6 separate regions of the Homo sapiens genome follow, and all the other regions are linked to region 3. The links are contacts of gene promoters, found by promoter capture Hi-C in blood cells and fetal thymus (Javierre and others, 2016). All regions are on one chromosome and are shown on one strand. Each heading gives the region's core, a stretch centred on a gene start or on the middle of the fragment in contact. The rest is flanking DNA. Distances are from core to core; before and after follow the strand shown.

Region 1 (4,436 bases), core at 234-2,733, 230 kb before region 3:
CTTGGCCACAAGATGTCACCCAAGGAACAGCAAAGCCGGGGCCTGGGAGGAAACTGGCCGACGGCAGACTCGCGGGGGAAGGGGTCGGGGATGGTGCGGAGAAGCCGCAGAGGCAGCGTGCTGCAGTGGCTGCAAATCTCGGGATTTCTAGCAGAACGGGGCGCTGTTGCCCTCAGAGGACGCCGATTTGTAGATGCCACCTAAAGATAATAAATTCGAAAATAATAAGTAAATAGGGACAAAAATCCCACCTTCCCAGAGTAAAATTAAACCCTGCTAGCCAGATAAAGGGCTGCAAACAGACAAGACACTTTGGTGTGATCAGGGCTGCAACCCAGGCAGGCACTGAGCTGGGCTCCAGGCATCCTCATCCCGGCCCTGTGCTTGGTGGGGTGGGAGCAGACACAGGAGAGGTGTGACCTGGTGTGGCACAGCCTCTGCCCCACCTAATTCTACCCACTGGAGATCAAGGGCTTTGGGGCACTCTGTCTTCCCAGAGGACGTGAAGAACTACCTGGCCCTGGACCACGACAGGGATAGTTCCTGTCCCAGCAGGGCCTGAATTTGGAAGGAAAAGATGGTGGAATCCCCGCCCTGAAGGGCTACTTTCTGCCTCTCATCCATCCCCATCTGCAAACATTAGGGACACCTGCCATTTGGAGGCATGCCCTCCCCTAGGAGCACAGGCTCCAGGGAGACACTGCTCTGGAGAGGGAGGGATGGGGGTGAGGCCTCACTGAGGAGGGAGGCAGGAGGGGGCACCTGGGGTTTTCCTCCAGAAGGGCCATCTGAGGCAGGAGGAAGGACTGTGGGGGAGGCAGTCAGATCTGGGCATCAGCAAAGGCTTAGAGGCCGGCAAAGGGCAGCACTTTGGGAAAGGTGATAGTTCTCAGTGGCTGGAGTGGGGCTGGCTGGAGGGGAAGGAGAAGGACCAGAGGCATGTGGCTGAAAAGGCAGGACAGAACCCAGGTAGAAAAGAGAAGATTTTAGGCAGAAGAGGAATCTGCTCAGACTTGATGAATTTTTTTGTTTGTTTGTTTTTGAGGTGGAGTTTTGCTCTTGTTGCCCGGGCTGGAGTGCAATGGCGTGATCTTGGCTCACTGCAACCTACGCCTCCCGGGTTCAAGTGATTCTCCTGCCTCAGCCTCTCGAGTAGCTGGGATTATAGGCATTCACCAACACGCCCAGCTAATTTTGTATTTTTAGTAGATACGGGGTTTCTCCATGTTGGTCAGGCTGGTCTCGAATTCCTGACCTCAGGTGATCCACCCACCTCGGCTTCCCAAATTTCTGGGATTACAGGTGTGAGCTACCGTGCCTGGCCAGACTTGATGAATTCTAAGGGCACCTAGGAGAAGGGGTGAGAGGGAGGCAGGGAGACTAGGAGTCAGTCGTGATTGTGGAGGTGGAAAAACTGGCTGTGGCAGCGGGGGACAGGTTTAAGAGACATTTCCCAGCCAGGCGCGGTGGCTCACACCTGTAATCCCAGCACTTTGGGAAGCCAAGGCGGGTAGATCACTTGAGGTCAGGAGTTCGAGACCAGCCTGGCCAACATGGTGAAACACTGTCTCTACCAAAAGCACAAAAATTAGCCAGGCATGGTGGCGTGTACCTGTAGTCCCAGCTTCTCAGGAGGCTGAGGCAGGAGAATCGCTTGAACCCAAGAGGCAGAGGTTGCAGTGAGCCGAGATTGTGCCACTGCACTCCAGCCTGGGCGACAAAGTGAGACCCTGCCACACACACACGCACAACACAAAAGAGACATTTGCCAAGGGCCCCTCAGGAGGTTTGGGCAATCCAGAGCCTGGGCCAGGGAAGAAGGCTGGGCAGCGGCAGGCATGAGTGACAAAGAGGCGTGTAGGGTGGGGCACATAGGGATGAAAGTATCTGGACCCAGAAAGGCATCATGTGTCAGGAATCACTCCACTGTGGTTACTGTTTATGACCACAGTGGAAAGGGACTTGAGCTCACAACCCAGCCTGTTAGTTGATAAACTGCCTCCTGGGTACAGTGTCCAATATTTGGGTGATGGGTAGGCTAGGAACCCAACCCCATCATTATGCATGTAATACCCATGTAACAAACAAGCACAGGTACCTCCTGAATCTAGAATAAAATAAAAAAATGGGTTCTCTTGGCTGTCCATGGTGGCATCACCCCTGCCATCAAGGGGCTGCACCCCACTGAGTACTTGCCGCCCTTGGCCAAATGCCTCAGTCAGACGCAGATACCAACCAGCAGGGACTGGCAAGAACTGTGACAGCTGCAGGGCTGGGTGCTGCTGCTCTTGCCTTTGCAGGTCGCTGTGCGTCGCAGTCCTGGAAACCTCTAGAACAAGGATCACAGAAGCAGTAGAGAACCTTTGAACTCCTAGCCTGTCATCCTATTACAAAGGAGGATTTGAACAGAAAATGAGTAGGAGAAAAGCTAGTGTTATTTTAGGTGTAAGTTCACCTGCTGGCAAGGCTAAGATTAGAGCAGCTCACAGGAGAATCGTGATTTTGAATCACCCAGATAAAGGTGGATCTCCCTACTTAGCAACCAAAATAAATGAAACAGAAGATTTGCGAGAAGCGACCACCGATCACCGATGGATGCTCAAGAACCCCGCTGAGGAAAAAAGGCAGGGCGCCTTTAAAAAATCCTGCAAATCAATCTACAACATGATCTTCTTAATTTTCATACATGCATAGACCACAATCTTTTCTTCTCCCATTAAGCTATTATAACAATAAAAGATTAATAATGTCCAGGCGCGGTAGCTCACACCGGTAATCTCAGCACTTTTGGAGGCTGAGGCAGGAGGATAGCTTAAGCCCAGGAGTTGAAGACCAGCTTAGGCAATATAGCGAGACCCCACCTATAAAAAATACAAAAAAATTAGCCAGGCGTGGCGGCATGCACCTGTAGTCCCAGCTACTCAGGAGGCTGGGGTGGGAGGATCACTTGAGCCTGGGAGGTCGAGGCTGCAGTGAGCCATGATCTTACCACTGCACTCCAGCCTGGGTGATAGAGCAAGACCCTGTCTAAAAAAAAAAAAAAAAAAGATAAATAGTAACAACCACCAAAAAGGGCTCTGAGTGTCTGCCCTGTGCACAGGTGGTCCTTGTGCTCCTGGCAAGTCCAGCGCAGGCCCTCCCTGGCAACTGCCCTGCTGACCGGTGTCAGAGGAGGCACCTTTCCAGGATTCCCTGGCCTGTCTCCTCACCCACAATATACCAGGTTAAAAAGAAGCTTGGGCCAGGCACAATGGCTCATGCCTGTAATCCTAGCACTTTGGGAGGCCAAGGCGGGCAGATCACCTGAGGTCAGGAGTTCGAGACCAGCCTGGCCAACATGGTGAAACCCCCATCTCTACTAAAAATACAAAAATTAGACGGGCATGGTGGCATGTGCCTGTAATCCCAGCTACTTGGGAGTCTGAGGCAGGAGAATTGCTTGAACCTGGGAAGTGGAGGTTGCAGTGAGCCAAAATCGCGCCATAGCACTCCAGCCTGGGCAACAGAGCGAAACTCCGTCTCAAAAAACAAAAAGCAGCTTGGGGCCTGAACTTGTGTTCAGTGGCAAGACTATCAAGTCCCCTCTTGAGTCAGCTCAGTGGGCAGCCTTCCTGATCAAGGGTTCCGGACACCCCCGTGCTCCTGGCAGCCTCCACTGTGTCCCTGCACTTTAACCACCCCCTCCATTAAAGGCCAGTACAGGAGAAATAGTTCAAGATTTTATGTAGATGGTAAAACTGCAGGGGATCCGTGAGGTAATAAAGCCCAAATCAGGAAACGCCTTCAAAGGAGTTGCCACTTGCCTTAGGTCTGGTTAGAGACAGAGCTCAGATTAGATCCATCTTCCAGTTCCTGAGCCTAGCAACATAACCAAACACCGCTGGGAACCTGTGGCTTTTCAGTAATGGCGGGAGTGGCCCAGGGAGGGAAAGGACTAGTTCAGGCTCATTGGTATGGCCCACTTAGCTGTGGAGGGGCTTGTGGCAGGGGCATCCCTGAGGACGCTGCGACAATCGGATGGCCCTGAGCACTTCCTGTCATCTGTCCCCTTCCATTGCACTCTTCTCCTCACAGCATGCTGCCCCAAAGCAGCAGCAGCAGATGCAGCCTCTGCTGTCACCGCCACAGCCACACGAAAAGGAAAATAGGGTCGCCAGTGATCAAAATGTAAAGGGACCTAGGGGAGGGAACCCAGGCATGGAAGTCCACACATCAAATGTGGGAGGAGAAGTAGAAGAGGAGAAATTCTTTTACTTTCAGCAGAGGCAGCACTGGGGAAACAAAAGTGAAGTCAGAGGTCAAGGGCTGTGGGAACCAATGCAGTTATTTTACATGGGACACCAGTTATGAATGGTCACAAAACAATCAAAATGAAACAACTGGCTGGGCGCGGTGGCTCACGCCTGTAATCCCAGCACTTTGGGAGGCCAAGGCAG
Region 2 (4,340 bases), core at 1,366-3,865, 170 kb after region 3:
TTATATATTACAGAATTTCACAAACTTGTTTGGACAGCCACTAGTCTGCTTGCTTTCTCCTACAGCATATCCAAAAGCTTTACAAGGTATGTACCCTCATTGCCTGGTATAGCCATAGGTTGCAAATAAACACTATCTATATTATGAATAGTACTGATCTTTGTTTTTTCCTCCCATAATGATCGCGTGTGGATTTATGGTGTTTAATATGGCAGGTGTCGCTCTGAAATATACCCAGAAGCCTTGCCAACAACCAGGATCCCTTAATGTGCTACCGTTAGGCCTTGAAATAATTCATCCCTGAGAAAGAAGTGGTTTTGTTCCTTGCTGATGGGGAACTCATGATTTGTAAATTTTAAAATTTGTTTTATAGGTGTTTGTTTTGATTTGCTGGTCATATCCATATAGCATGGTTTTCCTATACCTTTGCAGGCATGTTTTAAAAGATCCAAGGCATCTTTTAAGACTTTAAGATTGCTGGTCTAGGAAACTTCTCAGTCTATGCCACAGAGTTAGGATAACCTAACTGGCACAACTTAAAGTGTTTCTTTTATTCACATTTTTACCTTGTTGTGATTTAAAAATAAAAGAACCTCTTCTAAGTCTGCCAGAGAGACAGGTTAGTGTTTTGGCCATTTCTTCAATGGCTGAGAATCAAAAGACTTTTTGTCCTTAATAATTTGTCTTTAATTAGTGACACATAAAATCTAATTCTAACTCCCAGTCATTTAGTAGGTAAAATACTAAACAACCTTAACACTGTTTTAGCAGTACTTGTCACTGTTTCACTATCTCCCTAACTGTGAATAGTGCTGATGTCTCTCTGTGGGAGATGGCATTTTACTGCTACTTCCCAGCCAGAAGTCCTGTCTGCTGACATAGTTTGACACAGGAAGTGATGGTCAGCATTTGAATGCCTGAGAGAAGCTGGAGGCTTTCACCGTTGTTTTAAGGTAAGTTCTGCTGTTTAACAGGGAAAAACATGTAGAAATATTAACTTCATGTATCCAAAAGTAAAATTACTAAGGGATAGAACTTACCTTCAAACAACGGTAAAATTCTCCTGCTTTGAAGATTTTGTTATCCTGTTTCTTATCATTTCTGGAGGAATGTAATCTCTTTCAGTTACTGAGCAGTACTTTTTGCTATCAATCTGTCCTATCATTATGTAGTTTTATTTAAATTTACATGGTCAAATAGGTTAATACCAAGATTATTCGGTCTGAAAGACTTCATTGTATAGAGGAGAAAAACAGACTTTGGAGGCAAACTGACTGAATTTGAATCCCGACTCAGCCACTTACTTGCTGTGTGACCTTGGGAAATTATTCAGCCATTCTGTGCCTCAGTTTCTTCATCTATCAAATGGAAATAATAATAGTATCTACCTCATAGAATAATGCTGGGTATGTAGTAACTACTCAATATGTGCTGTCATTATTATTATTATGCTTAGTTGTAATACATGTCCTTCACACATTTTATCCGGTTTCCTATCTTCATGCTACAAAGCTTAGACCTCTAACACCTTAAATTAATTGTTCAGTTACAAAAGCAGATTCAAAATTCTTCTGTGAGAAATGTTTTGGATTTATCCATAGGCATAATTGCTACTCACCTCTGCAAAAGGGGAGAGCCTTCCATGTGGGTGCAAAACTAGCTGATCAGTAAGCACTTCTGAGATCTAAAGCCTATAGTTTTCTCATTAGCCAAGAGTTACTTCATTTATTCAATTTTTTTTTTTTTTTTTTTGAGATGGGGTCTCACTCTGTCACTCAGGCTGGAGTACAGTTGTGTGATCATAGCTCACTTCAGCCTCTACCTCCTGGGCTCAGGTGATCCTCCCACTTCAGCCTCTCAAGTAGCTGGGACCACAGGTATACACTACCACACCCAGCTAATTTTTGTATTTTTTTTTTGTAGGGACTGGGTCTCACCATGTTGCCTAGGCTGGTCTCAAACTCCTGGGCTCAAGAGATCTGCCTGCCTTGGCCTCCCAAAGTGCTATTCAACATTTATTATCAGGTACTGTGCTGGGCACTGGAGATAGCACTATGACCTGACAAGCACAGTTACATTCTTCACAGAGCCAAATGTCTTGTGGCAGATAGACAGAGCCTGATGGGCGGTTATTATAAGTGATTCACAAGAGGATGCCTGCAAATGGACGAGGAACTCCTGACTAGCAGCACAATGAAGACGAGGGAAGGGGATGAGATAATGTCTAACGTGGACGTTAAGAACATGGAGAACTAGATGGGGGTGGGAAATGACCGAGCAAGAGTGTTCCAGCTGAGAATTTGCATGTGCTGTGGCCATGAGATAAGACAGCTTAGGGAGCATGTAGAGAAATTTATTTTATTGTATTTTTTTGAGATGGAGTCTTGCACTGTCGCCCAGGCTAGATGCAGTGGCGCAGTCTCAGCTCACTACAACCTCTGCCTCCCAAGTTCAAGCGATTCTCCTTGCCTCAGCGTCCCGAGAAGCTGGGATTACAGGCGCTCGCCACCACTCCCAGCTAATTTTTTTGTATTTTTATGAGAGACTAAAAATGTTGGCCAGGCTGGTCTCAAACTCCTGACCTCGTGATCTGCCCGCCTCCGCCTCCAAAAGTGCTGGGATTACAGGCGTGAGCCACCGTGCCTGGCCTAATTTTGTATTTTCACTAGAGACAGGGTTTTGCCATGTTGGCCAGGCTGGCCTTGAACACTTGACCTCAAGTGATCCACCCACCTTGGCCTCCCAAAGTGCTGGGATTACAGGCGTGAGCCACCACACCTGGCCAAGCACATAGAGAAATTAGTCATTCCTTCTAGCTAAAGGGTAGAGTTTGAGATTGTGTGATTGAATTGTGAAAGAATTTCTAAGATTTGTTAAGTAATTTAAGTGGAAGACAATGGGGTACAGGTTGAGCATTCTTAGTCCTAAAATCTGAAATGCTCCAAAATTCAAAAGTTTGAGTATCAACACGATACTGAAAGTGAAAAATTCCACATATCAGTACTTAGCACAAGGTTTGTTTCATGTACAAAATTATTTAAAATATTATGTAAAGTTACCTTTAGGTTATGTGTATACGGTACATATGAAACATTAATAAACTTCGTGTTTAGACTTGGGACCTGTCCCCAGGACATCTCATTATGTATATGCAAATATTGCAAATCCCAAAAAACCCAAAATCCAAACACTTGTGGCCCCAAGCATTTTGGATAAGGGATACTCAACTTGTACCATCAAAAGATTTAAACAGGAGAGTAGCATGAAAGAGCATTCAGTTAATGTCCTAGAGAATGAACTTGGGAGGGGCATGGATGAAAATAGGGAGATGGCTGGAGATAGCACAATGACTAGTAGCCAGCTGCAAAGATACTAAGCCCATAGAACCATAGAACCAACAGGACTTTGTGATGGACTAGGTGTGGGGAGGGAAGGCAGGAATAGACTTCCAGGTTTCTGGCTGAGATGCTGGTAGAAATGATAATACCTGATGAGAAGCATATTTGTAGAGAACAAAAGGGGAAATAATTTGCTTTGAGTTGTTGACATGTTGAGTTTGAGGTGCCTTTGAGAATTAGGTTGAATAGAGTAGCCTAGAGCAGCAGTACTTAAAAGAAGTAAGAGTGTGAGTCATTAAATTTTCTATTACCTATATCAAAAACAGTAAAAAGAAACAGGTGAAATTAGTGTTAACAATGACATTTTGTACTAAAGCTTTGAAATCATCTAGTCACATTTTACTCATCTAGTCACATTTTTAGTGTCCAGTATTTTACTCATCTAGTCACGTTTTTAGTGTCCAGTATCTACCGCAAGACAGAGCAGTGCCAGACCTAAGGAATTCAATTTAGGCTGCTGATAGAGAATTAGAAATTTGTAGGCATATAAATGGTAACTAAAATCATGGGAGTGAGAGCAGTCAGCAATGTATGGGGCCAAAGAAAGAAACTACTCATATTTAAGAGATAGGAAGGGAAAGAGCAGCTCATAGAGAGCAACTCAGAAGAGAATGAAAAAGACTGGCGTTTGTAGCACTCATCAGAGAATTCTATCAAGATAACCCATAATCCAACACTTGCCATATTTGGATGAAATTTGTTAATTGAGAGCAAAAAATAGTAAGAAATATCATTTTCCATTTCTCTTAAGTTTTCTAGGCTCTTTCTGAAGTTTGTTCAGCAGAAAGCAACATAGCAAAGTTTTTGTAGTTTCGTGAAGAATCTGCTTTGATGAATTATGATTTAATGAGATAGCTTTAATTTTATATATTATCAGTATATTAAAATGTTCCTCATATGTATCTCTTATCTTTTGCAAAACTATTGTCTATATATATAACA
Region 3 (4,223 bases), core at 1,512-4,011:
TTCCCCTCCTGTTTTCTATTTCCGTATCAATTTATTGGTGAATTTGTGCCCTCATGAGAGTAGGCTTATGCTGGCTTAGATCATTCAAATGTTTTCTTAATTCAAAAATGCATGACATTTATAGATTTGTGTTGTCAACAAAAATACTACATAAGTATATTCCACTCAATCCCTAGGCACCCACTATGCTCAGCAGCACTGTGCTTTTGTATATAAATGGTGGGTTATAAAAGACTGCATGGAGGCATTATGGAATAGCACAGGCTTTGGGATCAGATCTGGGTGAAAACCCCAGCTCTGTCATGCAGTAATAGCAACTAACCTGTATACAGCATATGTGCTAAATTGTTATGTTCTCTATTTTGTGATGCCCTTGCTGTATGGGTCTATGACTATATTACCTTTTATTTTTTTTTTTTCTTGGTAGAGATGGGGTCTCCCTATGTTGCCCGGGCTAGTCTTGAACTCCCGGCTGAAGAGATCCTCCTATCTCGGCCTTCCAAAGCACTGGGATTACAAGCATAAGCTACTGTGCCCAGCCCAAACTTCAAAAAAATTAATAAATCTTGTTCATCCTTCTCTAGAACTTTTCTCCCCCTAGATGAGGAAATAGGCTTAGAGAGGATAGGTGACTTGTCTAACGTTGCACAAGAGAGCTGGAACTTGAATCCCTAGAGGGCACACCAGAGTATTTCTTTAGCGCTCTATTTTAAGCAATATTGGTTATTGTAGTTGTGTGACCCTGAACAGATTGAATTTTCTGAATCTTAAGTTTCTGTGTCTAAAATAAGAGAATATCAGGCAGGGTTAATCTCACTATTAAAAATAGCACACACAAAGCACCCAGTATCTGGTCCAAAGCTGCCTTTTATTAAGGGCTCATACTCATAGGCCATTTGTTCAAATTCATTGTAGTTGGGAAGAATAATCCAAGGCAATGTATAATTGCTAACATAGTGTAGATTTTGTAAGTACAACACATCTGGACAAGGAAATGTTTGATGTAGGATGGAGTAATTGGGGAAGATAAAGAGGAAGTGTGAATTAAGTGTGGACTGGAATGATGGGATTTGTATGTCTTACAGAGTTAAAATAAGCAGAGATCACTTGGACACAATGTGAAGACTCGAGGATCCTTTTTGGGAAGGCGTAAGAAATGAATAGGTCCTGTTTTATTGACAATATCTGCCATATATCAGTGAGGATTGGTCAATTATGGAAGATGCTAAAAAGCAGGCAATGGATTTTTAATAAGGAATATAATAAATGTATTTCAAGATTACTTCCCTAGTGAGTTGATGATCCCCCTTCGTCTGACACAAATTATTCTCGAGTTCTTTCCTCTCTCTGGCTTGATAATATGGGTGGAAACTGTTAGTTGAGATTGAGGTGATTTGTGGTTCTGTGACTTTAGGATTACGTGAAATACTAATTTGGGGGACCAACAGAGATTTGACATTTTTTCAAAGCAATTTTTCAATTCCTACTACAATTTACCGTCAGTATTACTTCATAAATGGAAAGTCATTTTACCATTAAAGATGTAGGTAGGACCATCTCAGAAGAAAAGACAACTCTTTACACCAAATACATTTGGTTTTGTGAAAAACTAGTATCCTAATTTTTGCCGCTTATGGAGATCAATGAGAGATTTTCCCCACCCCAATGTTGACATGTACTACTCGACGCTGTCATATTATTGAGGCATAAAAGATGTTCTAATAAAATGGAAGTGACTTAAGAGAAAGTTTTATGCCTCCTCCCAACTCTGAACAGATGCTGAGAATATACCAAACAAGTTCACACAGGAGTAGAGATTTAGAGAGGCCTTCCCACCTTCAAGAATTTTATAATACGTTAATGAGCTGAGTCTTATTTTCAAGGATGGCTTTGTTAAAGCAGAAGAAGGGTAACTATGCTTATGAAAGGCAGTTTTGCATGCCTGTTTGTCAAAAAATACAGTACAATTTATTTTAAAATTGATTAATTGGTGTAGAACTTGCAATGGTCACACAATCAGGATGGTCAGCTTCCATTCAGGGATCAAATTTGTCCAGGCCTTTCAAAATGGAACACGTTGCTTTTAGTATGGCATTGGTTCTGTTTGTAGTGCTGATTTTTCTTTCATGGTAATTAAAAAAAAATCTTACTTTCTTAAAAGCCTGCACCCAAGCTAGTGAGCTTTTCTGCAGAGGATTGAGCATCCAAACCATGCTTTATTTTGGTGGATTCTTAGAGTTTTCTGGCTGGGTCCTTTTTGAGGGGTAGCTGTGAGCTGTGAGACAATTTCAGCAAGATGTAGGGACAAGGATCGCATTCGAGGTGGCTTAAAAGGAAACACGTTTGTGAGAGTTGCCTCACTGTCTCACCTGCTAGAAGAAATTGGGAGATTTCAGGGCTTGTTTTCGGTCCTGGCGTGGTGCAGAGGTGGAGGGGCGCCAGCAGGTGTGTGGTATGCAGGACGCAGAGCCAGGAGAACCTGGGGCAGGTGTCTGGAGCCGGGGGTGCAGTTCCTACTTTTAGACGCATGGTGGCGCTAGGGTCTCCTCCGGCCCTGCTAGCAATCTCTAAGGCACCTCCGCCGCCACCTGCAGTCTCAACCAAACCTCTGGGTGGGCAGCGCGGGATGTGACGGGCCGAGCGTCCAATCGACTGACAGATTTCCGTCCACACTACTGCTCTAGCCAATGGGAGCCGAGGAGAGGCGCGGAGGAGGCGGGCCCCGCGGCAAGCCTGGCAGAGGCGCGAGGCCCTCCTCCCGCCTCTCCGCCTACTCCAGCCTCCGCCGCCTCAGCTTCCCGAGCGAGCCCTGCGGCCGCCGGAGCAGCTCCCGCGGCGGAGCAGGAGCCGGATGGTCAGAGGAGCCCGGCAGCCCCAGCAGCCGCGGAGTCGCCTGGCCCCCAGGTGCGGGGGCTGGGTGGAGGCCGGGGTTGGGGATGGGGTGGGGGCCAGGGAGCGGGCCCAGGGGCAGCGGCTCGGGGCGGTGGAGCATTCGGGGCGCAGAGACCGGAGGGGCGGGGGGTGCAGGCTGGGGGGACCTTGGGGGCGCCTGCAGGCGGCGGCGCGGGCTGGGCGCGATCGCCTCCTCGAGGCCAGGTGAGAGGGGCGTGTGAGGGAAGGGGCGCCGAGGGGTGAGGCTGGCGGCGCGGGGCCGGGAGGGGCAAGGCGGGCGCGCCCCCGGAGGGGCCGTGGAATGCGGGGGTCGCCGGGCCCGGAGAGGCGGGGCGTGGAGGGGGCAGTGCACGGTCGGGAACGGGTGGGCACAGGAAAGGGGAGGCTAGGGGGGCTTGCGGGGGTGACGAGGCAGACAATGAGTAGGTGGAGGTGGGTGATTTTGGGGAGCTGGGCTGTGACGAGCAGGGGTCGAGGATGGGGTGAGGGACCAGGAAGGTTTGAGCTCAGGGGGAATTGGGGGAACGGTGAGTCCCAGGAATGCTAGGTCTTGGTAAATAGGGGAAACAGGGCATGAGGCGTTTGTAAGGTCAGATCTGGGCTTGGCGAGCCTGTGGTCCCAGAGGGTGGTCTATTTAGTTCTTGACTGGCACGGTAGCGCCGGGAGATGTTTTCTTGTATGTTACTTTTAGTTACCGTCTTATTTGTTTGGTCTGCAGACTGACTGGCACAGTGGAGAAACCGCCTCGAAAACGGAGAAGCAGGTAAGGCAGTGCCTTCCTATTTTGCTTCATGTTTTTCTTTTTGCTTGGCTGCACCTGTGCCGTACTGCATAATTGTATACTGTCAGTAGATGAAGTTTCTTATTTATCCCCCTTTTAAAAGAATATAACCACATGCATGATTTTTCTTTTGAGGACTTCAAATTACTACCTCTACAGTCGATTTTTTTTTTCTTGGTATCTAAGATAATGTGGGAAATCTTGAGAAATCCTACTTTTTTACTTTTTGATGTTGTGTAAGGATCTCAGCTATTTTTTTTTTTAACCTTAGCCATAATTTCATTTTCTCCAGCATCTCTGTTTAAAAAGCTCATCTTGGCTGGGGTGGCTCATGCCTTCAATCCCAGCTCTTTGGGAGGCTGAGGCAGGAGGATCATTTGAGCCTGGGAGTTCAAGACCAGTCTGGGCAACAGAGCAAGACTCCGTCTCTACAAAAAATTGAAAAACTAGCCGGTCCCATAAATATATACACCTACTATGTACCCACAAAAACAAAAAATTAAAAAAACAAAAACCAACTAGCTGAGCGGGTGTTGTGGACCTGTAGTC
Region 4 (3,872 bases), core at 1,051-3,550, 230 kb after region 3:
CCATCTGTTGTTTTTATAATTGGAAAAATGGGGCTCAGGGAAGTCCAGACTTTGGTCACAGTAAGTTTCTTCATTCATTCTAAAAATATTAGTTGAGCTTTACTATGTGCTGGGCTCTGTGCTGGGTGTTCATAATATTATGGTGAGCAAAATAGATACAGTTCTTGCCTTTGTGGTGCTTATAGTCTAGAAGGGAAGTCAGACATTAATCAGTAATCACATATATAATTACTAACCGTGATGAGTGTTCTGAAAGAAAACTACGAGATTTAGTGAGATCCTATTAAAAGATATCAGATCAGGGCTGGGCTTGGTGGCTTACGCCTGCAGTCCCAGCACTTTGGGAGGCCGAGGCAGGTGGATCACCTGAGGTTGGGAGTTCGAGACCAGCTTGACCAACATGGAGAAACCCTGTCTCTACTAAAAATACAAAATTAGCTGGGCATGGTGGCACACACCTGTAATCCCAGCTACTTGGGAGGCTGAGGCAGGAGAATCGCTTGAACCCAGGAGGTGGAGGTTGCAGTGAGCCGAGATTGCACCATTGCACTCCAGCCTGGGCAAAAAGAGCGAAACTCCGTCTCAAAAAAAAAATATATATATATATCAGATCAGATCCAGTTGGAGCCGTAGAACACTTAAGGAAGTAACACTCGATACAGTGCTCAGGCTGGAGAGAAAGGGATGATGGGAGAGAATTTCAAGCAGGGAACAGCATGAACAAAAACTCTGAGGCAAATAAAAGGATTAGCACATTCAAGGAACTAGAAGAAAGCCAGTGACATACAGAATAAGAGAGAATAACAGATTACTCTGGCCGTTAGGAGACTGAGAGGGTCTTCCACTTAGGAAGCTTTTGCAGTTGTTCGACCGTAAGATGATGGAGGCTTTGACAAGTGTGGTGGTGAAGATAATAATGGGTAGACAAATGTAAGAACTATTGAAGAGATTGACAGACTTACTAATGTAATAGATATGGGAGGACAGGAAGAGAAAAGTCTGTATTTTTATGGGTGATTTATGGGCTTCTGGCTTGGGCAAAAGAAGGGCTGGTATTGTGTGAAGATTGTAAATTTGGAATTTGTTTTTTTCTTGTCTTTATTGAGTATATATAAAAACATATTTATAAAATATGAGTATGATAGAAAGTATAATAAGGCAATGAGCCCTCTGAGCTATCCCTCAGGTTAAGAAAAAGAACAATGTGTTTATCTTTGAGGTTCCCTCTGTGCCCTTCACTATTCCATCCCATTCCTTTTTCCTTTGGAAGTAAGTACTATTTGGAGATTGCTTCATTGTCTACTTTGCTTTCTAATGTTGTCAGTTTTATCCCTAAACTATCTTCTTTAGTTTCCCATGCTTGTTAATGTTATATAAATCATTCTGTAGGTATTTTTCTAAACTTACTTTTTGTGCTCAACATTGCACTCCTGAAAAACATTCATATGATACCTGGAGCTATAATTTATTTTTTCTCAATTATATAGTAATATAGTAGGGACATACCAAAATTTTAATTTTTGTCGATGGTGGGTTTTTTTTTTGTTTTCGTTTTTTTTTTTTTTTTTTTTTTTTTGTGTGTCAGGGTCTCACTCTGTCACCCAGGCTGGAGTGCAATGGTGCAATCATGGCTCACTGCAGCCTCAAATTCCTGGGTGTAAGTGATCCTCCTACTTCAGCCTCCCATATATCTGGGACTACAGGCTTACACTACCACACCTGGCTAATTAAAAAAAAATTTTTTTATAGTTAAGGTCTCACTATGTTGCCCAGGCTAGTTTTGAATTCCAGGACACAAGCAATCCTCCTGCCTCAGCCTCCCAAAGTCCTGGGATTACAGGCATGAGCCACTTTGCCTGGCTTGTGAAGATTTTTAATTACTGAATAGATTTCCTTAATGGTAATTCTAAGTTTATGTATTTCTTCCTAAGTTTTGTTAATTTATATTTTTCTACATAATTGTTCATTTGCTATAAGTTTAATGTTTTGGCATTGTATTTCTTATATTCTTTTTTTAGTTGCTCCCCTATCTTCATTCATAGTAGTATTTATGCATTTTCTATTTTTTTCTAGTTTATTCTTACCAGATGTCTGTCAGTTTGGAAACAAAATTTTACTTTAATTCTTTTCATTTTGTTTTTATTTAACCCACAGTGTTCAGAATTACACATTTTTTACTCTACTGGATAGCAGTTCCTCAACTGTAGCCATTATCTTTCAACTTCCCAATTTATGTTCTTCCTAACCTGTATTGTACTTAACACAATATTTTCATGGAATTCACCTTACTTTTTTTTTTTTACTTAAATAAGTATATTTATGTATTTATTTATTTATTTATTTATTTATTTAGAGATACAGTCTTGCTCTGTTGCCCAGGCTGGAGTGCAGTGGTGTGATCTTGGCTCACTGCAGCCTCCACCTCCCAGGTTCAAGTGATTCTCCTGCCTCAGCATCCCGAGTAGCTGGGACTATAGGCACATGCCACCATGCCCAGCTAATTTTTGTATTTTTAGAAGAGACAGGGTTTCACCATATTGGTCAGGCTGGTCTTGAACTCCTGACCTCTTGATCTGCCTGCCTCGGACTCCCAAAGTGCTAGGATTACACACGTGAGCCACCACGCCCTGCCATTTATTTTATTTTATCTATCTATTTATTTATTTTTGAGACAGAGTTTTGCTCTTGATGCCCAGGCTGGAGTGCAGTGGCGCGATGTTGGCTCACTGCAACCTCAACCTTTTTTGTTTTCAATTTTTTTACTTTTGTAGAGAAAAGATCTCCCTGTGTTACCTGGGCTGGTTTTGATCTCCTGGCTTTAAGCAAGCCTCCTGCCTCGGCCTCTCACAGTGCTGGGATTACAAACATAAGCCACTGGTCTCAGCACCATAAATACATTTATAATGAAGGAAAAAAAGGCATGTTGGGAGAACCAAAAGGATAGACAAGTGGTTAACGCTTAGAAAGGAAGTGGAAACGGTGCTAGATGAGGCTGGGAAGGTATGCAGGGCCAGTTGTATAGACTAAATAGTGAACATGAAATTTCATAAATAATCATTAGTGAATATTTAACAAGAATAGCTGAGCATTTACCCTGAGCTCAGTATTCAAGAGCTTTACAGATAGGGACTCATCGAGTCCTCACAACTACCCTTTGGTTAGACAGTGTTTTCCTATTTTACAGGTGATAGTAATGGGCATCTGACATCAAAGGCTAAATGATTTGTCAAGACCGTACAGCTGGAGTCAATGACAGAGCCAGGATTCAGACTCATGTCTGTCTGAATCAAGTGACCACCACCCAGAATTGATGCAGTCCATATTCTGGGACTATAACTGTGAGACCCAGACTCGGGAGGGAGTAGGTGAAGAGGGTGATCATTAGGAAAGGGGCAGGTTTGATGTCAGGGAGTATGGCTTGGTAACTGTTCCCGTAGTCCACATGAGGTGTAGAGGGCCTGAAGTAAATCAGCCAGCCTGGAGAAGGAGATCGCATATCAATATGTTGCACAAGAGGCATAAGTGGAACTTGGCCACTGATTCTTTTTCTGTCCCTAACTTTGCCTAACACAGTGACCTGTGTAAGATGTGTTGTTTTGGTTTTAACTGGAATGGGTCATCTATACCTCTTGAATTCAGATTGATGTGTAGGGGAACAAATGCAGACTTTGGATCCAGAAGACCTGGATTTAAATTCTTCATCTATCGCTAATAGGTATATGCCTTTGGGCTAGTCCCTAAGCTTCAGTTTCCTTGTAAATGGATGTGATAAAGAGCATTTGTAAGGACTAGACATAATAGGAAGTGCTTGCAGCGTTCCCTTGACCCTATATGTCTGTCTTTACGCTATTACCACACTGTCTTGGTCATTG
Region 5 (3,989 bases), core at 686-3,185, 180 kb before region 3:
TGAAACCCAGCCTCTACTAAAAATATAAAAATTTAGCCAGGCGTGGTGGCGGGCACCTGTAGTACCAGCTACTCAGGAGGCTGAGGCAGGAGAATGGCGTGAACCCGGGAGGCAGAGCTTGCAGTGGGCCGAGATCGCGCCACTGCACTCCAGCCTGGGCGACAGAGCGAGACTCCATCTCAAAAAACAAAACAAAACACAACACAACAAAACAAAACAAAAAATATAAAAATTAGCCGGCCTGATGGCACATGCCTGTAATCTCAGCTACTTAGGAGGCTGAGGCAGGGGAATTGCTTGAACCCGGGAGGCAAAGGTTGCAGTGAGCTGAGATCGCATCATTGCACTCCAGCCTGGGCAACAAAAGTGAGACTCCATCTCAAAAAATAATAATAATAATTAATCTAAAGTTGCTTGTTATAGAGCTTTTTCTTCTTTTTTTTTTTTTTTTTTAGAGAGAGTCTCGCTCTATCGTCCAAGCTGGAATGCAGTGGCACCATCTTGGCTCACTGCAACCTCCGCCTCCCTGGTTCAAGCAATTCTCCTGCCTCAGTCTCCCGAGTAGCTGGGACTACAGGCACACGCTGCCACACCCAGCTAATTTGTTGTATTTTAGTAGAGATGGGGTTTCACCGTGTTGCCCAGGCTGGTCTCAAACTCCTGAGCTCAGTGAATCCACCCACCTCGGCATCCCAAAGTGCTGGGATTAGAGGCATGAGCCACTTCGCCCAGCCCAGAAGTTATTATGTCCAAAAAGTGGAAGAAATCTATAGATTTAATCACAGAAGAAAGTTGAAAAAAATTATGATATGCCATGTGAGGTTAAGGAAAACAGCCATAAAAACCATGTTATTTAAGAATGTTAAATTACAAAGGGAAATGTTAATGCCATATTATTAAATTACAAAAGGTTACAAAACAGGATAAACCTAATTTTGCTGTGAATAATCTAAAACGTCAACTGCTATCAACAAAATTTTGAGATTATAGGTGATTCTATTTCTCTGTTTTGTAGAATGAACATACATTACATGTCATTTTTTTGGAAAAGTCAGATTAAAATATGAAGTTATTATATTTTAGGTTTCTTTTTAAATGTCAGTAAATTTGAACTATTGTCTTTAAATAAAAAAAAACCCGGGGCCAGGCGCGGTGGCTCACGCCTGTAATCCCAGCACTTTGGGAGGCTGAGGTGGGCGGATCACGAGGTCAGGAGATCGAGACCATCCTGGCTAACACGGTGAAACCCCGTCTCTACTAAAAATACAAAAAATTAGCCAGGCGTGGTGGCGGGTGCCTGTAGTCCCAACTATGCAGGAGGCTGAGGCAGGAGAATGGCGTGAACCCGGGAGGCGGAGCTTGCAGTGAGCCGAGATTGCGACACTGCACTCCAGCCTGGGCAACGAACGAGACTCTGTCTCAAAAAAAAAAAATTGGTACTAGTAGGCAAAATGACATATTCTCATTTCACAATCTTGGCTTTGAATTTTCTTTTTAATACCTATTTCCATTGTCTTCTGCTTCATAAAGGTATGTGTGAGTGTGAGTAAAGGAATACAGAACATTTAAGAGTATGTGCAACATATTGAAATACTAGTAAGTCCATTTTTTCCCGTTTCGACATGCATGATATCCTTCTAAAGGAGCTCTATAAGCTTTGGTATATATTAATACTGCAGAAACAGAACTTGCTGTTATTCTATTTAAGTCTGAATAAAGACATATCTTCTCCATTTTATATGACCAAAGGCATCTTGCAATTTTAATTTTATTCAGGAAACAATCTTTACAGCCAACTGTTCAGGCTCATTAGAGGAAATCTTCATTAGTCTCCTCAGTGAGAAGCACAGATGGTATAATTATAATTTATAAGCTCCTTTAAAAAACACAAAACAAACTATTAATTGAACCACACAACTCCTTGAATGAAGTAACCCTTCACCTTCAGATATTCCTTCCAGATTATCACTGCAGAGGGAAAAGCGCAAGGTTTTATCAGGTTTACCATGGAGTTTGTTTTCATCAACAGGGACATCTCCTTGTCCTCCATCCGAAAGCTGCATGTTTAGGACCTAAAAAATAAAATGTCAATTTTGGTTTATCAATGGAAAGATTACTGATAAGGAAACAAACCACAGCAAATGCATATTTAACTCCTTAATCTTAAATTATCAATTTTTAACTACAAACCTATTTAGAAGGTCTGTCAAGCTTTTAAATACCTGTGGAATAAAAGTATATAAATTAAAGCAGCTGAAGCCATGCCTTTCCATTACCCTACGAGTGTTACAGATAGAACAGGCAACCAGACTACCAGATGAGTAGTGGTGAGAATTATACAAATCAGAAGTCTTTGGTGTCAGCACGCTGGTCCTTCTAATTCTGTCATGTGTCAACTATGTAACCTTGGATAGGCAAGTTATTGAAATTCTCTAAGCCTCAGTTTCTTCATCTATAAAATGGTGACAGTAACAGTATGTATGCCATGTAATTGTTGAGAATTAAGTAAAAAGATGCACATAAAACAGTTGTCATGTCACGTATTAAATTTGCAAAATTTAAAGAAAGTAAATCAACAAGGCTGGGCGCAGAGGATCACGCCTGTAATCTCAGCACTTTGGGAGGCCAGGGCAGGCAGATCACGAGGTCAGGAGATCGAGACCATGCTGGCTAACATGGTGAAACCCCATCTCTACTAAACTACAAAAAAAATTAGCCGGGCTTGGTGGTGGGTGCCTGTAGTCCCAGCTACTCGGGAGGCTGAGGCAGAAGAATGGCGTGAACCTGGGAGGCGGAGCTTGCAGTGAGCCGAGATCGCGCCACTGCACTCTAGCCTGGGCGATACAGTGAGACTCCATCTCAAAAAAATAAAAATAAAAAATCAATAAATAAAATTTTTAAACATACTAAATTTGCAAAATTTAAATAAAATTTAAAGTAAATAAAAGTAAATAAATTCAACTAGAAGAAAACGTGTAATCATGTTATTTTGTAGGCATCAAGATTTAATCCATCTAGTCTGAACGTCCACTTGATCACAACATACATACAGGGCCACAAAAGTCCACACCAGAAACTAAAGTATGACTTCACAGACATCTCCAGCTTAGACTGATGGCCTTTTTATATGCTTTCCATTTGCCAGATGACTTCCAAATAACATAACTACATCTCACTACTCCCTACAAGCCTCACAACTCAGCTTTGTGTGTATATCTCCACCTTAATGAAGAATTAAGTGCTTTGTTGAAAGTCACATAGCATGTTTTAGGTACACCTTGGACTTGAACTCAGAGGCCTTGGCTCCCTTGGCTGTTGCTGAAATATGAAGGAAGAATAGTACCCTCACTTACAAAGAAAAAAACTTACCACAAAAAATGAAAAATATGTGAGGCGATACAGGTTATTTAGCTTGATTCAGCCATTCCACAATGTATATCAAAACATGTATACCATAAATAGATACAATTTTGTCAGCTAAAAGATAAATGATTTTTAAACAGAAAGAAAAAAAAAATTCTTGGTTGCTGTTTTGGCTCTGAGTAAATTAAAGGTTTTGAAATGGTTTTATACATTTACACATGATGCCTTTAAATACAGGTTTTTTGGCTGGGAGCGGTGGCGGCTCATGCCTGTAACCCCAGCACTCTGGGAGGTCAAGGCCGGTGGATCACCTGAGGTCAGGAGTTCAACCTGGGCAACGTGGCAAAATCCCATCTCTACTAAAAATACAAAATCAACCAGGTGTGGTGGTGTACGCCTGTAATTCCAGCTACTTGGGAGGCTGAGACAGGAGAATCGCTTGAACCCGGGAGGTGGAGGTTGCAATGAGCTGAGATTGCACCACTGCACTCCAGCCTGGGTGACAGAGCAAGACTGCATCTCAAAAAAAAAAAAAAAAAAGTTTTTTTTTCCCTATTTGCTTGAAATTAATAGACATAGGCCAGGCGTCGTGGCACACACCTGTAATCCCAGCTGCTCAGGAGGCT
Region 6 (4,436 bases), core at 1,547-4,046, 250 kb after region 3:
CTCGAACTCCTGACCTCAAGTGATCCACCTGCGTTGGCCTCCCAAAGTGCTGGGATTACAGGCGTGAGCCACCATGCCCTGCCTGAGATGGAGCTTTTAGGACTTAGGAATGAGAAAAAAATAGGAATTGTAGATGACACCTAGGTTTGGTTTGTATAACTCAGAGTTTCTCCACCTCAGCGCTATTGACGTTTGAGGCCGGATGGTTCTCTGTTGTAGAGGTTCTCTGTTGTGGATGGTTCTCTGTTGTGGATGGTTCTCTGTTATAGAGGGTCTCTGTTGTGGAGGGTCTCTGTTGTGGATGGTTCTCTGTTGTGGGTGGGTCTCTGTTGTGGGTGGGTCTCTGTTGTGGAGGGTTCTCTGTTGTGGAGGGTTCTCTGTTGTGGAGGGTTCTCTGTTGTGGAGGGTCTCTGTTGGGGATGGTTCTCTGTTGTGGAGGCTCTCTGTTGTGGAGGTTCTCTGTTGTGGAGGATCTCTGTTGTGGATGGTTCTGTGTTGTGGAGGGTTCTGTGTTGTGGAGGGTTCTCTGTTGTGGAGGGTCTCTGTTGTGGATGGTTCTCTGTCGTGGAGGCTCTCTGTCGTGGAGGCTCCCTGTCGTGGAGGCTCTCTGTCGTGGAGGGTCTCTGTCGTGGGTGGTTCTTTGTTGTGGAGGGTCTCTGTTGTGGATGGTTCTCTGTTGTGGAGGGTCTCTGTTGTGGAGGGTCTCTGTTGTGGAGGGTTCTCTGTTGTGGAGGGTCTCTGTTGTGGAGGGTTCTCTGTTGTGGAGGGTTGTCTGTTGTGGAGGGTTCTCTGTTGTGGAGCGTCTCTGTTGTGGAGAGTCTCTGTTGTGGAGGGTTCTCTGTTGTGGAGAGTCTGTTGTGGAGGGTTCTCTGTTGTGGAGAGTCTCTGTTGTGGATGGTTCTCTGTTGTGGAGGGTTCTCTGTTGTGGAGGGTTCTCTGTTGTGGATGGTTCTCTGTTATGGAGGGTTCTCTGTTGTGGAGGGTTCTCTCTTGTGGATGGTTCTCTGTTGTGGATGGTTCTCTGTTATGGAGGGTCTCTGTTGTGGAGGGTCTCTGTTGTGGAGAGTCTGTTGTGGATGGTTCTCTGTTGTGGAGAGTCTCTGTTGTGGAGGGTCTCTGTTGTGGGTGGTTCTTTGTTGTGGGTGGTTCTCTGTTGTGGATGGTTCTTTGTTGTGGGTGGTTCTCTGTTGTGAATGGTTCTTTGTTGTGGATGGGTCTCTGTTGTGGAGGGTTCTCTGTTGTGGATGGGTCTCTGTTGTGGATGGGTCTCTGTTGTGGAGGGTCTCTGTTGTGGATGGTTCTCTGTTTTGGATGGGTCTCTGTTGTGGAGGTTCTCTGTTGTGGAAGTTCTTTGTTGTATTTGCTGCAAATATGCATGATAAGATGCTTAGGAGCATCTACCCACTAGATGTCAGTAGCAGCCCCACTTAGGACAACCACAGTGTCTCCAGACATTGCCAAATGTCTTGTGGGGGCAAAAGCACTGCTGGCAGAGAACCACTGGGGTAACTGAATGAATAGGGTACGTACCATTCACTGAGATGGGGGTCCTGGGAGGTATGTCAAGAGTGGATTCCATTTTGGGCATGTTGAGCTTCAGAGGCCTACCCAACAGGCATATCTAGTAGTCTGTAGGCTGACAAGTCTGGAAAATTGGAGCAGATTCTGAGTAGACATATAAATTAGGAAGCCTGTGTGCCTATAGTTCCAGCTGCTTGGGAGCCCAGGAGGCGGAGCTTGCAGTGTGCAAGATCGTACCACTGCACTCCAGCCTGGATGACAGAGCAAGAACCTATTTCAAACACACACACACACACACACACACACACACACAAAACTTTAAATTAGGAAACCATCAATCAGCATAGCTCATAGGCAAAATTACAGCCAAATGGCTATCAATGAGTGCAGATAGAAAAGAGGCCAAAATGAAGGCCAGGGCCACACCCACAAGCACAGGCTCAGAACAAAAGGAGGGGCCGACAGAGAAGACGCCAAAGGAGCCGCAGGTAGGGTAGCAGTAAAAGCAGGTGCATGTGGGGCTCTGGAAGTACAGGGCAGAAAGCGCTACAAGAAGGATTGAGTAGTGAACTCTGTGATATGCTGCCAACTGGTCAAGAAAGGAGACAAAGAGCTGACCATTAGATTTGACGAGACTGAGTTTGTTGGCAACGCTGGGAAGAATAGTCACCGTAGAGTCGTAGGGAATATGGTTGACGAGAGCAGGTTAAAATGAGACTAGAGAGATGCTTCCACTTGCAGTAAAGGCAAACTAGGTAATTCAGACCAGCTCACCTGAGGACTCCCAGAAAAACTGGCCAAAATAAGAGAACATCTGCTTGTAGGAGCCTACAGGACTGAGGAATGGCCCATCCTGCCCAGGGACGGGAGTCCAGCATGCAAAGCAGCTTTTGCCGTGGTGGTATCTGCTGATCCTGAAGAGGCTGGAAGTTTATCTAAGTTTTTCATAGTTTCTCAGAGTTAGGGGAATAAAATTTGGAGTTTAAATTTTATTAAAGCTTGGATCCAGCCTGGGAGATCCTGAAAGCTTTGGTTAGGCACACCACAGGACTACACGCTAGGAGTAAGCTTGAACGGGAAGTAACCAGCACCCCATCTGCACCCCGCCCCCAGCTTTGATTGCACTAACTGAAGGACACGGGGTGGCCCAGGAAAAGCCCATTAGCTAATTTTGGATTAAAATGATCCCAGGTTATTAGTGCTCCTGGGTGACTAGAAAAAACAAAATCAAAGATAGGTAAACAAAAATACAAAACAACACAAAAGAAACAGACTCACAAGGGCTCAGATATCATATGCTTACTATGTTTAAGGAGATAAAAGACAAAATTTAAAATTTCAGCAAGATGTGGAATAGTTCTATTATTATAGTTATGATAAAAGACAGCAGTTTTAAAAAAGGAATCAAATAGAACTTTAGACCTGAAAAATAGAATAACTGAAATTAATACAATAAATTACAAAAGGACAGGAGGAAGCTTTCTGGGGGATGGGTATTTTTACTATTTTTATTAGGGTGATGGTTTCATCACAGTTCATCAAGGCATACACCTGTAGTCCCAGCTACTCAGGAGACTGGGGCAGGACGCTCTCTTGAGCCTAGAAGGTCGAGGCTGCAGTGAGCTATCATCACAAACTGGACTGCAGCCTGGGTGATAGAGCAAGAACCCATTTCCAAAAACATAAAAATTTAAATGTAAACATATAGAAAACTCTTATATGTTTACATTTAAGAAATACACTTTCTTTTTTTTTTTTTTTGAGATGGAATTTCTCTCCTGTTGCCCAGGCTGGAGTGCAATGGCGTGATCTCGGCTCACTGCAACCTCCGCCTCCTGGGTTCAAGCGATTCTCCTGCCTTAGCCTCCTGAGTAGCTGGGATCACAGGCATGCACCACCACACTAGGCTAATTTTGTGTTTTCAGTAGAGATGGGGTTTCTCCATGTTGGTCAGGCTGGTCTCGAACTCTCAACCTCAGGTGATCCGTCCACTTTTGCCTCCCAAAGTGCTGGGATTACAGGCGTGAGCCACCATGCCCAGCCTGAAATACACTTTCAAATAACCCATAGGTCAAAGAAAAAAATCACAATGGAAATTTTAAAATATTTTGAAATAAAGTTGGGCACAGTGGCTCACACAGTGAGCTGAGATTGTGCCATTGCACTCCAGCCTGGGTGACAAGAGCAAAACTCTGTCTCAAAAAAATAATTATAATATTTTGAAATAAATGATTTTGTAAATACTGTGGATCAAAATTGGTCAAGTATAACTAAAGCAGTGCATGGAAGGAAATTTCAGTCTCAGTGGCATCTCTTAGGAAGAAAGCCTGAAAATTGAGCCATGTATGCATCTCAAAAAGTCAGAAGAAGGCACAAATCAAACTCAAGGAAGAAATAACAAATATAAGCACAGAAATTAATGAAATAGAAAATAAAATGGGCCCGGCGTGGTGGCTCACCCCTGTAATCCCAGCACTTTGGGAGGCCAAAGCGGATGGATCACATGAGGTCAGGAATTCAAGACCAGCCTGACCAACATGGTGAAAGTCCATCTCTACTAAAAATACAAAAATTAGCTGGGCATAGTGGCACATGCCTGTAATCCCAGCTACCTGGGAGGCTGAGGCAGGAGAATTGTTTGAACCCGGGAGTCAGAGATTGCAGTGAGCTGAGATCGTGCCATTGCACTCCAGCCTGGGCAACAAAAATGAAACTGTCTCAGGAATGAAGTGAAGAAGGGAGGGAGGGAGGCTGGGCGCAGTGGCTCAAACCAGTAATCCCAGCATTTTGGGAGGCCAAGGCAGGTAGATCACCTAAGGTCAGGAGTTTGAGACCAGCCTGGCCAACATGGCGAAACCCGGTCTCTACTAAAAATACAAAAATTAGCTGGGTGTGGTGGCACATGCCTGTAGTCC

Evidence for each region. The method cuts DNA at HindIII sites, captures the fragments that hold promoters and counts their contacts. A CHiCAGO score of 5 or more calls a contact.
Region 1: a contact is called between a fragment that was not itself captured here and the fragment with the promoter of SCAI in region 3, in 5 of 17 cell types (endothelial precursors, megakaryocytes, M0 macrophages and 2 more). The highest score is 8.2, in endothelial precursors.
Region 2: a fragment that was not itself captured here is called in contact with the fragment with the promoter of SCAI in region 3 in 8 of 17 cell types (megakaryocytes, total CD8 T cells, naive CD8 T cells and 5 more); the score reaches 7.6 in megakaryocytes.
Region 4: a fragment that was not itself captured here is called in contact with the fragment with the promoter of SCAI in region 3 in 5 of 17 cell types (M0 macrophages, endothelial precursors, M2 macrophages and 2 more); the score reaches 7.2 in M0 macrophages.
Region 5: a fragment that was not itself captured here is called in contact with the fragment with the promoter of SCAI in region 3 in 1 of 17 cell types (naive CD4 T cells); the score reaches 5.1 in naive CD4 T cells.
Region 6: a fragment that was not itself captured here is called in contact with the fragment with the promoter of SCAI in region 3 in 6 of 17 cell types (megakaryocytes, endothelial precursors, M2 macrophages and 3 more); the score reaches 7.9 in megakaryocytes.

The regions. Positions count from the first base shown.
Region 1 is chr9:125,370,478-125,374,913 of GRCh38, reverse strand. No RefSeq gene overlaps it. Among named protein-coding and RNA genes, the nearest start is that of GAPVD1, 110 kb to the right of the region's middle. RefSeq lists an enhancer at 3,336-3,836. The HindIII fragment of the contact is 3,508 bases long and covers 1-3,237 here.
Region 2 is chr9:124,971,860-124,976,199 of GRCh38, reverse strand. It overlaps SCAI (suppressor of cancer cell invasion), which reads left to right. Exons shown (of 18, transcript NM_001144877.3): 15 at 14-86. Among named protein-coding and RNA genes, the nearest start is that of GOLGA1, 33 kb to the right of the region's middle. RefSeq lists an enhancer at 548-1,106. The HindIII fragment of the contact is 2,202 bases long and covers 1,515-3,716 here.
Region 3 is chr9:125,142,066-125,146,288 of GRCh38, reverse strand. It overlaps SCAI (suppressor of cancer cell invasion), which reads left to right and starts at 2,761. Exons shown (of 18, transcript NM_001144877.3): 1 at 2,761-2,904; 2 at 3,612-3,656. The coding sequence starts at 2,852. RefSeq lists a silencer at 2,643-3,142. The HindIII fragment of the contact is 9,654 bases long and covers 1-4,223 here.
Region 4 is chr9:124,914,582-124,918,453 of GRCh38, reverse strand. All of the region lies in intron 10 of GOLGA1 (golgin A1), which reads left to right. Among named protein-coding and RNA genes, the nearest start is that of GOLGA1, 25 kb to the left of the region's middle. The HindIII fragment of the contact is 2,889 bases long and covers 856-3,744 here.
Region 5 is chr9:125,319,516-125,323,504 of GRCh38, reverse strand. It overlaps GAPVD1 (GTPase activating protein and VPS9 domains 1), which reads right to left. Exons shown (of 28, transcript NM_001282680.3): 10 at 1,943-2,072. Among named protein-coding and RNA genes, the nearest start is that of GAPVD1, 60 kb to the right of the region's middle. The HindIII fragment of the contact is 556 bases long and covers 1,658-2,213 here.
Region 6 is chr9:124,891,779-124,896,214 of GRCh38, reverse strand. All of the region lies in intron 15 of GOLGA1 (golgin A1), which reads left to right. Among named protein-coding and RNA genes, the nearest start is that of ARPC5L, 32 kb to the right of the region's middle. The HindIII fragment of the contact is 410 bases long and covers 2,592-3,001 here.